Linked DNA regions of Homo sapiens: region 2 is linked to region 1. Evidence: promoter capture Hi-C in 16 types of primary human blood cells and fetal thymus (Javierre and others, 2016). All regions are on one chromosome and are shown on one strand. Each heading gives the region's core, a stretch centred on a gene start or on the middle of the fragment in contact. The rest is flanking DNA. Distances are from core to core; before and after follow the strand shown. Region 1 holds the start of DOCK8-AS2 (DOCK8 antisense RNA 2). Region 2 has its middle 5.3 kb from the start of LINC-ADAIN.

The links. Contacts are between HindIII fragments. The CHiCAGO score rates a contact against its expected background, and 5 or more counts as called.
Region 2: a contact is called between a fragment that was not itself captured here and the fragment with the promoter of DOCK8-AS2 in region 1, in 1 of 17 cell types (M0 macrophages). The highest score is 6.9, in M0 macrophages.

Annotation. Positions count from the first base shown.
Region 1 is chr9:466,971-472,093 of GRCh38, reverse strand. DOCK8-AS2 (DOCK8 antisense RNA 2) reads left to right here and starts at 1,965. Exons shown (of 2, transcript XR_002956871.2): 1 at 1,965-2,780. It also overlaps a transcript of KANK1 not described here. RefSeq lists a silencer at 1,878-1,927 and enhancers at 2,038-2,187, 1,690-2,215, 2,748-2,847, 3,088-3,137. The HindIII fragment of the contact is 2,947 bases long and covers 1,323-4,269 here.
Region 2 is chr9:1,040,303-1,045,425 of GRCh38, reverse strand. No RefSeq gene overlaps it. Among named protein-coding and RNA genes, the nearest start is that of LINC-ADAIN, 5.3 kb to the left of the region's middle. The HindIII fragment of the contact is 2,017 bases long and covers 1,301-3,317 here.

The DNA.
Region 1 (5,123 bases), core at 716-3,215:
GCACCAATAATTATATGTAAGAGTGTTTTGGCGTATGGGGATGTGACTCTGGGAGAGCAGGGCTCTTTTTTGTCAGTCACATAAGGGTATATCTCTTTAATTGAAGTTGGGGTTGGGGGCAGGGGAATAATCGGAGGTTTATTCTTACTGTCCTTGTGCTCGGGGAGTCAGCCGCAGTCCCTGGTGACCGGCTCACATATCCTCATGTGGCTAGCAACACCCACCTACCATGGCAGTACAGGAGAACGCTTAACTCACTGTAATCTCCAATGCCTAAGTGCAAACGATTCTCTCGCCTCAGCCTCCGAAGTAGCTAGGACTACAAGTATGCACCACCATGCCTGGCTAATTTCTTTTACAGAGATGGAGGTCTTGCTATGTTGCCTAGGTTTCGAACCCCTGGCCTCAATCAAGCCTCCCACTTTGGCCTCCCAGAACCCTGGGATTGCAGGGGTGAGCCACCGCATCTGGCAGAGAATGCATTCTTTTACAAAAATGCCAACTCACCTCAAAGAAAAGTTGAGTGAAGAAGGATGAGAAATTGTGACTTTATCTTATTTACTTTGGTCCTGCTCCAAGGAAGATGACAGACTGAGGCCCGCATAAGGAGGGAGTCCCACATGGACTTGGGAGTGTCATCACCATCTCCTTGGGGCATGCAGAGAGCGGTCACCATCTCTTGACCTCTCTCCTCAGCATGCTCCCCACTTCCCTACTCTACTTCCTTGTGGTTTCCTTCCTTTGTGCCCTCAGTCTAGTGTCCTTACCCCTGTCCTGGAGACCCCATCTCTTTTCTCCAGTACATAGTGCCCCTCCTCGGTCCCTTCCTGCACATTCCACTCAGCTGGCACTATCGCTTTCCTTGGCCCAGCTTCGCCAGCTCTGAAAAAGCAAGGGGTGAGGTGCAGTCCATCAGATGGAAGAGATGATATAATTGATGATCAGATCCAGGGCAGGTGCCCAGCAGTAACAACTGTGGCAAATTTCTACATAAGCTAGCTGAGAAACAAGCTAATAGAATGAGCTTATTTCCCAGTGACAATGCAATCTAGTGTTCTATGACCGGCTCCTTGCAAAACAATAACCCTGGCATTATGACAAGATTCACATTAACTGTGCAGGGCCCTGTCTTGACTACCCAGGTGGCTAGCACCTACTTGGATAAGAATGTCCTGAGCTTCAAATCTCTTCCCTGATAAAAAGAGGGCTGCTGCTCTCAAGGAACTTCAGTCAAGGGGAGTGGGGGAAGACAGTCCCACACACAGACAAAAAACTAGGGGGTGAAAGGCCAATGAGTGGTGGGAAGGAAAGGGAAAGAAGCTTCCAGAAGTAAGTGCTGAATGGGAGATTAAACTTGGCTGGGGGCCACGGTGGAGCACAGGTGTAATGGAGGGTGGGGCCTCTTTCAAACCTCACTCGTGGCTGTGTGCACGCGTGTCCGTTCCCACTGGAGTGGCGGTGCTTTCTTGTGGCAGGGGATGGGTTGCTTCCCTCCGAAGTCTTCGCTAGAACTCCCTCCTCCTCCTGCTTCCTTTCACCTGTTCGTTCCAAACATACATTGAGCTGCACGTTCTGGGTTCCCTCACGAAGGAGATTTCAGGTCTATGCCCACTTGCCACGATTTTACTTTACTTGGTTCCCAGTTCTACTCCTTTCCCTGAGCTTCACAGTGTTGAGAAAAAAAGCCCTCAGCCTCCCCGAGTCCCTCAGGCCACGCACCCTCTCACTTTGCTAATTTCCAACCACTCGCTGCTGAGCAGGCTGGAGCACGCCCGCTTCGGACGCCCCGAAACACCCTCGGGCGCATGCTCAGTAACTCCCCCACGCCCCTACCCGGGCGCATGCTCAGTAACTCCCCCACGCCCCTACCTGGGCGCATGCTCAGTAACTCCCCCACGCCCCTACCCGGGCGCATGCTCAGTAACTCCCCCTACCCCGCCCGTCCCACCACTGCTGCCCTTCGCCGCCGCCCCCGGCAGTGCTCGCTCTCTCTAGGCCCCATGTAAATCGCTGTGTTTGCTGGGGAGCCCTTAGTTCAATTCTCAGGGGATTAGGGCCATTGAGATTCTTAATCAATTGCTGGGTTCCACGCGATCCTCTTTAGAAACTTTTTGCTTAATATGCATCTAGAGACATGCACGGCCCGCCTGCAGCGCTGGAGCCGATGGAGTGGAGCCTGGGAGGCTGCAGGCGACCCCCAGGCTTCTAAACAGCAACGTCAGTTTAATTATTGCAGATCCGTCACAGCTGCCAAGTCCTCTCTGTCTTCGTTGTTGTTAACGGGGAAACTTGCCGCCCGGTGGCTTTGCTTCAGGCGGAAGTCCGCGTGCTTTGATACCCTCAGGGGGCACTTACAGGCTAGGTGGACACAGGTGGGCTGCGGGACTCCGCGAATTTACCTTCCAGGGGAATGCACTGCACACATGCTGCACACAGGAGACAGGGAAGCCTGGCGAGGTTGGGTTTTCAGGCGCCACTGTATACACTCTCAGTTCCACTGATACCCTTTCTTTCTTCTACCCGCTTTCAGGCGCCACTGTATACACTCTCAGTTCCACTGATACCCTTTCTTTCTTCTACCCGCTTTCAGGCGCCACTGTATACACTCTCAGTTCCACTGATACCCTTTCTTTCTTCTACCCGCTTTCAGGCGCCACTGTATACACTCTCAGTTCCACTGATACCCTTTCTTTCTTCTACCCGGAGGCCCTGGTAGTTGGCTCTCGCCAGACAATGTAAACTGGCACTACAAGTGGAATAGACCAGACGTTTATTTTCTGGTAAGTCAGGCCTCTGTCCTGCCTGCACCTTTGGCCTGATTTTGATTAACGTTGTCAGAAGCGGATGCCATGTGTGGGGGTGCTGGCTAAACTTTCTGGAAGTGTCAATTGTAAACAGTGTTACCTTACATTTTGGGCAGCACTTTTGAGTTTCCAAAACATGTTCCCATGCATTATCTCATTGGGTTTCCTCAGTAGATTGGAAGAATGTGGAGGAACTTGCACCCTCTTTCACAGTGAAAAAAACCCTGAAGCTCAGAGCAGTATAGTATCTTCGCCAGAATTGCAGGACTAGAAAGTGAAAGAACAAGAAACCAGGTCTTCTGGTCCTTAGTCTGGAGACTTTTGGCAGTCACATATACTTTTTTATTATCTCACTAATAACTCTTGATAATCTTGTTGGATAACAGAACAGTTTGTTCATCCGTGTCGTGTTCTCTCATTGCATTAAGGAAGTGATGAGGGAGCTGATTTCTCAATTGTTTTTTAGAGCTATAATGCCTTGAAAATCATTCCCTTATCCTGGCTATCAGTAATTTGCCATCTCCTAATATGTAGTAAAAATAGTAAACGTAAAAACTAGCTGCCAAGCTAATGCCACAAACATCAAGTAGGAACTGGGTTGGATTCAGTAACATCGGTCCAGAGAGAGCACTGCTCCTCAAGATGGGTGCAACATCAAGGACTTAGGGATCAGGAATGTGCACGGCTCTCCAAATGGTTTTCAACCAAGGTGATGCTGCATTTCCTCTAGTAATTTCATAATTAAAAACTTAGTGATTATCAGAAATTTAGTTTTTGCTTTCTTTTTTGTTTGTTTTGGTTTTTGAGACAGGGTCTCACTCTGTTGCCCAGGCTGGAGTGCAGTGACACAATCATAGCTCACTGTAGCCTTGAACTCCTGGATTCATGCCTCAGCCCCCCAAGTAGCTGAGACTACAGGCAGGCACCACCATACCTAGGTAATTTTTGTATTTTTTGTAGAAACGGGGTTTTGACATGTTTGTCAGACTAGTCTCGACCTCCTGGGCTCAAGCGAACTGCCAGCCTTGGCCTCCCAAAGGGTTGGGATTACAGGCACGAGCCACTGTGCCTGGCCAGAAATTTAGTTTTTTATTTATTTATTTATTTATTTATTTATTTTTTTGAGACGGAGTCTTGCTCTTTGCCCAGGCTGGAGTGTAGTGGCGCGATCTGCGTTCACTGCAACCTCCGTCTCCCGGGTTCGCGCCATTCTCCTGCCTCAGCCTCCCGAGTAGCTGGGACTACAGGCGCCCGCCACCACGCCCGGCTAATTTTTTTATTTTTGTATTTTTAGTAGAGACGGGGTTTCACCGTGTTAGCCAGGATGGTCTTGATCTCCTGAGCTCGTGATCCGCCCGCCTCCGCCTCCCAAAGTGCTGGGATTACAGGCATGAGCCACCGTGCCTAGCAGAAATTTAGTTTTTAAATCAGGCTGTGTGAGGTTGGGTTTAAGAATATTGAAGCTTGGCTCACGCCTGTAATCCCAGCACTTTGGGAGGCAGAGGCAGGTGGATCACCTGAGGTCAGGAATTTGAGACCAGCCTGGCCAACATGGTAAAACCCCATCTCTACTAAAAATACAAAAATTAGTCAGGCGTGGTGGTGGACGCCTGTAATCCCAGCTACTCAGGAGGCTGAGGCAGGAGAATTGCTTGAACCACGGAGGTGGAGGTTGCAGTGAGCTGAGATGGTGCCACTGCACTCCAGCCTGGGCAACAGAGTGAGACTCCGTATCAAAAAGAAAAAAGAAAAAAATTACATTCAAAGCAAAACAAAAGCTTCTGGTCTTTGAAAGCATACTTGCAACCACAATTACCAATGACAACTCTAAATTTTGTTTGTTTGTTTGTTTTTAAAACGATCTATTGTCATAGAAACCACTCTTTATAGAATAGAATTATGGAATTTAAAACAATGTGTGGCATGACAAACCCAATCAGATCTGTGCAGTATATTCATGTTTAATTTTTATGAGATTCTTATGTGATAGTGACAACTGCACCCTTGACCTTGCTGAAGGAGGGGAGGCATGAAGCTAATCAGAAAATTTTCTCTAATAAGCTTTCATAGAAGAGTTTTCCAAATAAAATGAAGAGGGCTATCATGGCATATCAAGTTTCTCTAATTTTCAGGAAACAAAGATACTAATTTGCTTTACTCTTAGGGATTCTTAAAAGGCCTCTTTTCTAACTGCATATTTAGAATATATAATCAGAGGACCAACGTTCAATATCTTTTTTTGTGCCATCACTTTAAAAAGTGCAGCCATGCTCCCCACTTAACTATCTGGAGTTGAGAAATGATCTGGGAGTTGGCCCA
Region 2 (5,123 bases), core at 1,060-3,559, 570 kb before region 1:
GAGGCCGAGGCGGGCGGATCACGAGGTCAGGAGATCGAGACCATCCTGGCTAACACGGTGAAGCCCCGTCTCTACTAAAAATACAAAAATTAGCCGGGCGTGGTGGCAGGTGCCTGTAGTCCCAGCTACTCGGGAGGCTGAGGCAGGAGAATGGCGTGAACCCGGGAGGCGGAGCTTGCAGGGAGCCGAGATGGCGCCACCGCCCTCCAGCCTGGGCGACAGAGCGAGACTCCGTCTCAAAAAAAAAACCAAAAAAAAAAAAAAAAAAAGAATCCTCCCTTTCCCTGCTCCGATTTACAAAGGAAAGGAAAAACTGAAGCTCGGAGAAGCTCATGGGAGTTGCTGGGAGACACACAGCTAAAACAGTGGCTGTGCGGGGTCAAAGAGCACCTCCAGCTCCCTGCCTCATACCGTCTTTTTAAATGTGCTCTTTGCAGCGGGATACGGAGTCAGACGCCGACTATGAAGTAATCGTCCCTTCCTAGCATATCTATCTGGAGGATCTGCCAGCCCGCCTGTCCCAACCCCCGGCAGCTTCCATCCTCCATGCTGGGAAACGTGGCTCAATTCCCTTGGGGGGCTGGTAGCAGCCAGGAGATGAGGCAACTGCAGACTTTCTTGACTTCTCAGTACCCATTCCAAATGGTCCTCAGGGGAGGCAGATACCGTGGGCTGTACTGGGGCCTGGGTTCCACCCCCGGGGCTGTGGCCTTGCTATGGAAGGCAGTCCTGGGAGGGCATGTGGCTGGTTGCCACATCAGGAGACACACAGCTCTTCACCCCCGAGAGCCTTCTTGCAGCCCCTAGGGGTCCTCACGACTAACTGGAACAGTAAACCCTTAACTCTGAGAACTTTCCACTCCCTATTCCCATTCTATTTTGGGGTTTTACATTTCAAGGGGGCAGGCTTTATCCACACTGAAATCACTCTCCATATTTTCCCAGCAGTCTAACAACCAGGTAGAGAGGAATCAAGGCGGGGCGGGGCGGGGGGGGGATTGCCAAGTGTTGGCAAGGCAGGTGCTGTGATGAAAAGTTAACTTCTTCCATGTGCATGAACCCCTCAGCAAATCTTTCCACCTTCCTGGGCCTGGGCTTCCTTGACTGTAAAGTGAAGGAGGGAAGTACATTGATTTCTAGGTTCTGCCTCAAACGTTAAAGACTGTAACAAATCTTAACTCCCATCTGATGGACTGCTTGCTCAGGTAGCAAGATCAAGGGTATGAAGAAAGTCCAAGCTGGACAGGAGGAGGAGAGGAGAAGGAAAAGAAGGTGGCGTGTGGGGAATTAGAAACAAGCTTTGGCATTGGTTTTGACATTTTGGTGATATTTTTGCTCCTCTATGCTACTGCTATTAATCTTACCTAGTTAAAAATGTAGGGGGTGGGTGGAATCTATCAACTAGGGAAACGATGGGACATGGAGTAGTTTCACAAAAGATTCAGTTTCCTAGAGCCCAGATCCAATAGGATTCATCCAAGTGACAAAGAAGGTTGCCACAAGTCACAAAGGTTCCATGATCCTGTGGCTTCTAGGTCAGGTTCATTCTGACTGGACTTTAAGCCAAAAATTACCAGGCTTCCTTAGCCCTGTCCTGTGCGAAGCTGACTCTGAGGTCTGAGTTTCAGCTCTGTGGAGGGCTGAAATATTGCCTTTCCTGTTAGCCCCAGGAGATCCCTCTGAAAAGTGTTCTTGCTGGAGGAGGGATTCCCCCCAATTATGCCAGAAGAATCCCTGTGCTCAAATTTTACCCACGCCTGGGAGAAGACTTGCCCAGAACACATGCTCCATAGTGTTTTTCAGGATGGAGTGGGAGTGAGAAAGGAGTGTCTCAGAGGAGGGATCAGAGTGTACTCGGCTCTGTCGTTGGATAGCCAGCGACTCCCCATGATGTCCAGGTGACAAGTGTGATGCTAAGTTTTGCAGCCAACTGGCAAAAGCACAGACACCTTTAAAGAGTACTTGACCTGCCTAAGAGAATGATTATTTTTGTCCATGAAATAAGTAGCAAAAAATATATAGTAAGACTCTAGGGATTCTCCTGTTCTACTCCTGGTTTTGCCAACTGAAGTAACCCTTGACCTTGGGCCACTTTTCTCACCATCACCACTTTAGGCTTCTGCAAAATGAAGAGGTTGAAGTGAAACCAAATCACCTTCCCATATATTTTTTGTAGTTCTAAGTGGGGTGAGAAAATGCAAAAGGCCTGCTCGGGGGTTTCTCCACGGGGATGTGGGGGCGGGGCAGGAGAAAGAGGGGACAAGGAGATACCAAAGCCAGCTTCCAGCGCGCTCCTTGTAACAAGGCGCCACGTAAATTTTAAGGGCCTGGAGGAAATCTTCTCTTTGATAATGCTGACCCCGGAGAGCAGGCGGTGTTCTAAAGGAGGGAGATGAGCAAGTTCCAAGGGGGCGGGTGAAAGGGAAATGTCACTTGCTTCCCACTGACTTAACGCGGCAGGAGCGCAGGTGCAAGAAACCCCCGGACCCTCCCTCCGGCCAACCCCCGCGCCCCACCAACCCCCGCCCCAAGCCTCCACTCCTGCTCCCAACTTTCGCCGAAAATTTATTGACGCGGCGAGGCCAGGCTAACAACACTGCAATCCCAGGCTCTTTGGGCCCCATAGGAATGCTTTGATCTCCCCCCAGCTCTAGCGGTCCTCAGCCGACGGCGTGGCCAAACGCCAGGGCTACCCGCGGCGGGTCGCCGTGCGGGGCGCAGCGGGAGGAGGCCGCGCGGGGGCGCTGTGGGGAGGACACGCCGGTCCGCGCTCAGCATCCGGGCCTGAGACCCAGCGCCCCCGGCTTCCGCGGCCTCCGCGCTCCCTCCGCGTTAACTCATCGCCCTGTCGCGCCCGCTTCTCCAGCGGGTTCGGCGGTCGGGGGAGGACAGTGATCGAGTTCGAAGTTCGGAGGGTCTCTGCGTCTCTGGGGTTTCTATCACTGCTCCTTCCAGCCCTCAAGCGGCTACTCCGAAGAATGACGAAGGGCCCTACTTGCGTAGATTCGTGGGATGATTTTACCAAGAAGGAAAAGGGGGAAAAGAAATCACAATTATTGAGGGTCCAGCCTTGGTCAGATTCCGTGTCAGACCCTTCCAACTTGACATTATTGACTCTTCACAACTCTTCATTTTGTAGTCCAGGAAGCAGGCTCCGAGAGACTGCCTAGAAAAAACAGCACCCGGATCTGAATTCGAGGCCGTCCCACACCCATCCCGGTACGGTTCCCAGCAGAACTGAGCTGGAGTGGCCCTGATGCAAATGAACTTAGATCCCAGCTGCTTGTGATGGAAGCCAATCCCAGCTTTCCCAAGCTTACAGGTTTTTTCCAGAAGAAGCCAACTTGATCTCCCGGAACACGAATTCAGCAGGCTCTCATCTCAGAACTGCCTCCAATCCATCCCATACCCCTTCACACTTCAGTCCTTGGTATTTTCTCCGATCACACCTTCCACTCCTCCTTCATATTTGCAAGTCTCTCCCTGCAGAATCTGCCCCGAGGAGCAAAGGACATTTTTCCATGGGGAACAGAATTTTAGAATTTCCCTTTGTACCCAGTGAGAAAGACTAAAGTTTGGTATAGGAAATAACCCAAAGACAAATCTATACACTGCATAGAACACAGGAAGCCTGGGCTCTGAAAACATAAAAGACACCAAATCATTCCTGGAGCACTTGTGAAGTTTTGGAAAATTCCTTTAACCTCTCTAAACCTCAGTCTCCTCATTTGTAAAATGAACATAATAAATATTTTTTCTTGCCTATGTCAATGGCTTCCTGATTTCCAAATGAAAAAAAAAGCAATTGGAATTCTTTGAAAATAAGAAAGCATTTAAAGCATAAGGTATGAATGAGACTTCTTTTCTTACTTAGTTTGCTTTCTAATCAGGAACCTCACTCCCTGAGTAACAAGTTGGTAAGATCAAATAAGACAAGTCTGGGAAAGGCCACAAAGGGAAATATGGGTGCTGGTTTATTAATTATTGTTCAAGCAATACCCTTTTCTAAAATGAAGCTGCCATTATGTTCCCTTCATCAGCCATATAAGAAATCCAGTGCCTAACCTCCCTTGTGGCCAGTGAGGAACAAAGCTCTGGAATTTTTACACAGATTTCTATTTCCCTGTGGAAGCACTGGAAAGGAAATGTCATTCTCACTTTGAAGAGGAAGAGGGATGCAGCAAGGTAATAAACGCTTTCTAAATAAGCACGTTGATTCAATGCTTTTCATTTCTCTTCAGAGGAAACCCTGTTATTGTGCAAGAAAGGATGAGTCCAGCTTCAACTCTTACCTCACTCAGCTAAGGCTGGTTTCCAGCTGGAACTATAAGCTGGGTTGTTTTCTTTTATATTACTTATACTTTTAATTACGGAAATTTTAACAATATACAAAAGTAGACCAGTAATATAATATCCATTACTATAACCCAGTAGAGTAACCTCCATACCTATATATCCATATGGGTATGTAATATCTATATATCTGTTAACCAGATTCGACAGTTATAATGGACCCATCTTTCTGCCCATCCCTGCTCAGAAAAATTCTTCAGAACGTCCACTACATTTCTGTCTATTAAAACCTGCAGCTGGCCAGAAGCGGGGGCTAATGCCTGTAATCCCAGCACTTTGGGAGGCTGAGGTGGGCAGACGGTTTAAGCCCAGCAGTTCGAGACCAGCCTGGGCAACATGGCAAAACCTCATTGCTACAAAAAATCAAAAGTTAGCTAGGCATGGTGGTGCACACCTGTAACCCCATCTACTCGGGAGGCTGAGGTGGGAGGATCACTTGAGCCCAAGAGGTTGAGTCTGCAGTGAGCCATGATCATACCACTGCTGCACTCCAACCTGAGTGACAGAGCAAGACTCCTGTCTCAAAAAAAACAAAAACAAAAGCAAAAAACCTGCAGCCCCATTTATTGAGTTGGTAAGATTTAATTATACCAATTGAATGGAATTTTTGGGACCTCAGATCTGATACTTTCTAGAACTCACAAACTCGTGATAAATCATCTGGGCAAGATTCTCATTGAGAGCCCAGCTTGATGCCAGTAGACTAGGGACAAAGATATAAGTAGCAGGGGTGAGTCATAACCCTAAATTCTAGAGTCTAGAATCTGAAC